Linked DNA regions of Homo sapiens: region 2 is linked to region 1. Evidence: promoter capture Hi-C in 16 types of primary human blood cells and fetal thymus (Javierre and others, 2016). All regions are on one chromosome and are shown on one strand. The core of a region is centred on a gene start or on the middle of the fragment in contact, and the rest is flanking DNA. Distances in the headings are between cores, read along the strand shown.

Region 1 (2,943 bases), core at 203-2,702:
GATCTCTGCCTTGAAGGCCTCCGCCTCGCCATTCTGGTCGTCCTTGGCCAGCAGGTCCATGAGGTAGGCGATGTAGCTGGTGGCCAGGCGCAGGGTCTTGATTTTGGAGAGTTTGGTGTCGGCGGGTACGTTGGGGATGCACTCGCGCAGTTCGGCGAAGGCGCTGTTGATGCTCTGAGTCCTGCGCCGCTCCTTGCGGTTGGCGGTGCCTCGGCGCTTCACCGGGCGCGGCCCCCCCAGGCCCGGGGGCCCGGCGCCCGGCGGCACCCCCCCGTAATGGGAGTGGTCCAGGCCGGCGGCGCCGCTGGCATACTCGGGGCTGTAGGACAGGGCCATGCTGTAGTCGGGGGGCGACATCTCGGGGTGGCCGATGAGCCAGCCATGGAAGTAGGGGTTCTCCTCATGGCTGCAGCGGCTGGCGGCGGCGGCGGCAGCTGCGGCGGCGGCGGCGGCAAACGGGTAGCCCTCGTGGTGCACCACCGGGTGGTGGGGAAAACCACCTACCAGACTCATTTCGCCCTCCGCGCCCCTCCACGCGCCCCAGCGTGCGCGCAGCCCCGCCGCGCCCTCGGCCCGGGCCCCTGCCTCAGCGCTCGGCGTCCTCCCCCACCCCCCACCCCCCAGCCCCCGGGCGCCCGGGCCCGCCCGGCAGCCGCAGAGGGGGCTGCTGCAGCCCGGGCCCCGTCCCCCCGCCTGGCCAGCCGGGCCCGCCTCAGCAGCGCTGCGGCCGCCGGCTCCCCATGGGGCGCGGCGAGCTGGTCCTGGCACCGTGCGCCCCTGGCCGCCGCCGCCGCCGCCTCCGGTTCCCGCCTTGCTCCACGGCCCGCGCTTCGGCTCCTGCTTCCCGGGCTGCTGCGCGGAGGCAGAATCCTCTCGTGCTCATACAAAGGTGCCGGGGCTCCCGCGAGGCTGGTACGCGGAGTCTCGGGAATCCAAGCCCGGGCCGCGGTCCTGGCACCGAAGCTAACCCGGAATCCAGGGGCGAGTCTGAGCCGCGGCTGGAGGAGCCGGTCCAGCTGTGCCGGGGGGCGGCGGGGTCGACTGCTCACTGCAAAGCTACCTCCGTGCGACCCTCCCCTTCCCGCCTCTTCCCCTCCCCCCACCAGCCCGATCTGGGTTCTTGGGCGCTTATTGTTTTAATGAAATTTTTGGTTGTTGTTGTTTTGGTCCTTAAATGTGATTTTAGCTGCGAGTAACGTGTCCTCGCTCCTCTCGCGCTCTCTCGGAGGGTTTTCAGAGAGGTCTCAGTGCATCCATTTTCTCAGATCCTCTCCTTTCGGGGCAAGGATCTGGGGCCCTGAATGAGCCTTGGAGCTCGAAGACCGCGGCTCGGGCTCTCGGAGGGCTCTGCGCGGTGGCCGAGGAAGCTCCGGGGTGACGGCGGTGGTTCTCCTGGGCTGGACGACGTGAGGGGAGCAAGCGGATTTTCCCAGCAAGATCTCCATGTACAGCTACATCTTTAGGGCCGCTCGGGTTAATATATGTCGTCAGAGGCTCCTCACGCCAATCCCGGGGCGGCAGGGGCGGCGCCTCGAGCTCTCGGCAATAAAACTTTTTGATGTTCACGTTGCTAATTGCCGAGGTCCTCTTCCAGGATTGGCTACCTCCTCATAACCATAAGATAATTAAAACTTGGCGGGGGGGGGGGGCAGGGTTAAAAAAACTTTTTTTATCAGTCAGAGGATAATGCAAGTGTTTAACAGATGCTTCACTATTAAAATATTTTCCCCCCAAGTCTCAAATATTGAAGAATCTCTAACCAGGTACAGTATCACTCTGCTCTCTTTTCTGGTTGAAAAGAAAGAAAGAAAGAAAACGCAGGTATTGCTTTTCGAAGTGCTTTGTAGGTAATCGAGGTAAGAAAATATACGCAGGCAGCCTCTTACAATTTTATGCAGGGGCGCCGGGAGCCTCGTGACGGGCGGTGGGGGCCCCCACAAAGGCGCGGCTGGGAGCTGGCGCTCTTTGCCCCAGCAGGGACGAGGAGCGGCTGGAGAAGGGTGTTTCTTTGACCCGTTTACAGGCTCGAAACGCCGGTCTCAGTGGCTATTGAGTTACCCACCAAGTTACCCCGGTTAGAGCTGTTTGGGGTGGCTCACGTTATTGCGGCAAACTTTGGAGATGACGGCTGAGTCCTCCGGGCGAACATGTCAAGCCGATTGTAAATGCTGTTATTTCCACATCCTTCAGGGACACCAGTCCCTACGAAGACCTTGGGCGATTTTGAAGTGCGGGCACCTCGATTCCCCGAATCTGTAGTGTGGCTGGTATCGGTGTTCCCCTGGTTTAACTAGCCTGTTTGGTAAGTAACTGAATATTTTTTACGGCGTGTTCAGAGCTTATTTTCCAGTTTTTATGAACAAACATATAAATATATCTCTGCATTCCTGCCTCCCTCATAAAAGCGGGCATCTGTGGAAAGCAGGTTTAGTTATCGGAGGGGAACCATTAAACGCCAGTTTAAGAGGCAGGCCGGGAGGACGGCTCGTGGATGTTGAGACTGCTGGCCTTGGTGATCTTGAACGCATTATAACGGAAAATGGATCTCCACTTGTAAGTCACCGGGCCGCGGGGCACCCGGGCCGCAGCGCCCGTGTGGCATGAGCTTCTTGAGAAGGCTCACGTGCGGCGAGGGCGGGTGGTAAATGGCAGGAGCTGAAATCACCCCAGGCTTGGCCCCAAGCCGAGAGGGGAGGCTGATGTGTATATGCAGATTCCACCCGAAGGAGTTCGGTGTGGAAAACGGTGTCAACAGGAGCCCGCGGGCTGTAAATTAGAGGGAGGCGAGGGCCTGCGGCGCCAGCGCGGGACAGGGCGGCCTGGGGCTCGCCGCTGGTCAGGCCAGGTTAGCCCAAGGGAGACCAAAGACTCCACCTTGAGCATCGCCCTTTGGAGGCGGGCAGAGTCCGGCCGCAGGCCACAAAGCGATCCCCACCCGAAGGA
Region 2 (2,943 bases), core at 117-2,616, 520 kb before region 1:
GCCTCCTATAGCCAGATTCCTCTGGTGCCCATCTTGTACATTAAACTAGAAAAGGTCCACCATGCCCAGCGCAGGATGTTAAAGAGTTGTCCAGATGTGTTGAGATTCACCTCCCTCGCCCCACCTCACTGCCCCTCCCTGCCCTCTACCACGCATTACAATGCAGAGCATCATGATGCGAGGAAAACAGCCACAGAACAAGTCCACAATACAATCCAGAGATGTTCAGTCCATCAACAGTGCCTCTCCCCTAACCACTGATCCAATCTTTGAACCCTCTCCCCACAGCCTCATGGTATTCTAGGAGGACTGTGGGCCTTGTAGCCAGGCCAACCTGGATTTTAGTTTAAACCATGTGGCCTTGTGAAGTTGTGAAATCTTTCTAGGCCATAGTTCTTCCATCTTGGACAGGGTGGTTAGGAGAATAAATCTTGGGGCAGCATCTTGCACATGCAGCAGGTGCAGAGTAATATCCTCTCCCTCCTGCCTTCCTTCTCTCAAACACTCACAAATCCCTTTATGCTAATACCAAATTAGAAACCTCTCTCAGGTCCAAGGCAGCTGGGACTTTGGCTTCATTTATCTGTTCCCAGCATAGTCAGCAAATACTAGTTATTATTCACTCAAATGCGCCCTGCATGGCTGGGCACGGTGACTCGCGCCTATAATCCCAGCACTTTGGGAGGCTGAGGCGGGTGGCTCACTTGAGGTCAGGAGTTCGAGACCAGCCTGGCTAACATTTTGAAACCCCGTCTCTACTAAAAATACAAAAATCAGCCAGGCGTGGTGGCTGATTATATACATATATCCAGAGGGGTTTATAGAAGGCTCTGTGACTCCCAGATTTATTGATAGGAATCAAATATCAGTGAAAAGTTATTTGCCTCCTCCTTCCTCTGTCTGTTTCTATAAGCTCCATGGGGATGTTACTGGGGACCTGAGGAATGGTGTTGGACTGTTAACTCCAACAAGCAATTCTGACTTCAGCCTGGGAGCAAGAGAGAAGGCTTTAGAAGCTATCGGTAAGGCTGGCATCTAGAGTGGAAAAGAACTTTTTTAAAAAGAAAAAGGAGGAAACCATAAGGAAAAGCTTCATTTCTTGGGCTAAATTCCTCTCTACCATCTCTATTCAACCCAACTAAGAAACACACATGGCCAGCTGGTGAATATAAAGCAGGCCTTAATGTCTGAACTGGGCTTAGTATTTCTATCCAGTAATGCTCTAGAATGAAATCTTCTCTGGCCTGCAGATTTTATTTGACAGCGGAACATGGATATAAACAAAGGCAACGATATTGCATACACTTTAAAAATTGCTGGTTCACTCCCCGCACCCCCCACGTCCCCCAACTCCCCACCTCCCACCCCCAGGCTAAAATGCAAAAATCTATGGCCCGTAATTCAAGAAATGGTCACCAGAGGGCAGCACTAGACAAGCAGAAAACTACATAGGCAGAACAGAAAGACCAGTTAATACAGCTCTTTAAAAAGATTTCCTGTCTCTAGAGATCCTAAAAATGAAGCTACAGTAGGATTAAATAAGGTTGATAAGTGGTGGAAAATGCATCATGTTTGAAATATTGCCATATATTGACTTGGAGGTTAAAACATTACAAGCTGTTTCATTCACCAGTAATTAACTGTAAGCTTTATTCAATATATCACTCAGTGACTTACAAGAATTAGGAAGCACTCTTCTACATTTAGATTAAAATTCCTGCATGAGGAAGGCATATCGGAACATGACAATTATGGATTTTCTTTTTAATTCAAAAACATTCAAAAAACACAAAAGGAGACTTATTAGAGTTGAAATAATCCGTTTTTTTCCAAAAAAAAAAGTGGCAAAAATTAAAAAAAGGAAAAAACAAAATTGTTACATGGGAAATAAAAAAGAGTCCATTGAAGGACCTGTATAAGAAAATGCCTTCTGCTGCAGAACACTGGTGGTGACTAACGTGGTTTCTGTGAAGGAAGCAAATGTATGATTCATTTTGCCAGGGCAATCTGCATAGCTGTTTGATATCATGGTAGCATTATGCTTCCTTTAGGGATCAAGAAAGAAAAACAAAAATAGATCCTAATAAGACTATAAGGTCTGGAAAGAACATTCCCCAGCTCCCATTGAGTCCAAGGGAGAGGAGTGGCGGGGAGGAACCCCCTTGGTCTAGTTTGGCTGTTCCCACTCTGCAGGCCCAGCAGCAGGCTCTGATGTCATGCTGGGGAGCAAGTGTTGCAGCCCAGCTTTCGTCCTCCCGAGGAAGCAAACACTGGCTCCCTCTCCAGGGCCTAGGGGAAGGTTCACAAAGACAGAAGCAAGCAAATGTGTGCATCCAGGGGACAGATTTTTTTCCTTTCTTTTTTCTCTCTTTGGGAAAAAAGAGTCTCATTATCAAGACAGAGCGAACTGATGGGTGCAAACTGCAAGGAGAAACATGCTGTATCTCAGGTTTCTGCAAACCTCATAACAATGAAATAAAACATCACAATCCAGACAGAGAAAAATATTTTCTGCTGTCTCAAGTCAGGTAGCAAGAGCAAGAGATAAGTGTATTGGCAGTACCAAATCCAGTGACCTTATTCATATAATACAAACGGACCCAGGCAACATGACACATATCACATTAATATTAAAGCAAAGAAATAAGAGTTAACATTGTGATATGGTTTGGCTGTGTCCCCAAATCTCATCTTGAATTGTAGTTCGCATAATCCCCATGTGTCATGGGAGGGACCCAGTGGGAGGTAATTTAATCATGAGGGCAGTTACCTTCATGCTGTTTTCCTGATAGTGACTGAGTTCTCATAAGATCTGATGGTTCTATAAGGCGCTTTTCCCCCTTTTGTTTGGCACTGCTCCTTGCTGCCGCCATGTGACGATGGATGTGTTTGCTTCCTCTTCTGCCATGATTGTAAGTTTCCTGAGGCCTTCCCAGCCATGCT

Evidence for each region. Contacts are between HindIII fragments. The CHiCAGO score rates a contact against its expected background, and 5 or more counts as called.
Region 2: a contact is called between a fragment that was not itself captured here and the fragment with the promoter of HAND2 in region 1, in 2 of 17 cell types (total CD4 T cells and total CD8 T cells). The highest score is 6.0, in total CD4 T cells.

What each region holds. Positions count from the first base shown.
Region 1 is chr4:173,528,777-173,531,719 of GRCh38, forward strand. HAND2 (heart and neural crest derivatives expressed 2) reads right to left here and starts at 1,453. Exons shown (of 2, transcript NM_021973.3): 1 at 1-1,453. The coding sequence starts at 513. It overlaps HAND2-AS1 (HAND2 antisense RNA 1), which reads left to right and starts at 1,595. Exons shown (of 5, transcript NR_136196.1): 1 at 1,595-1,763; 2 at 2,191-2,302. The HindIII fragment of the contact is 6,850 bases long and covers 1-2,943 here.
Region 2 is chr4:173,012,216-173,015,158 of GRCh38, forward strand. All of the region lies in intron 11 of GALNTL6 (polypeptide N-acetylgalactosaminyltransferase like 6), which reads left to right. Among named protein-coding and RNA genes, the nearest start is that of GALNT7, 160 kb to the right of the region's middle. The HindIII fragment of the contact is 557 bases long and covers 1,089-1,645 here.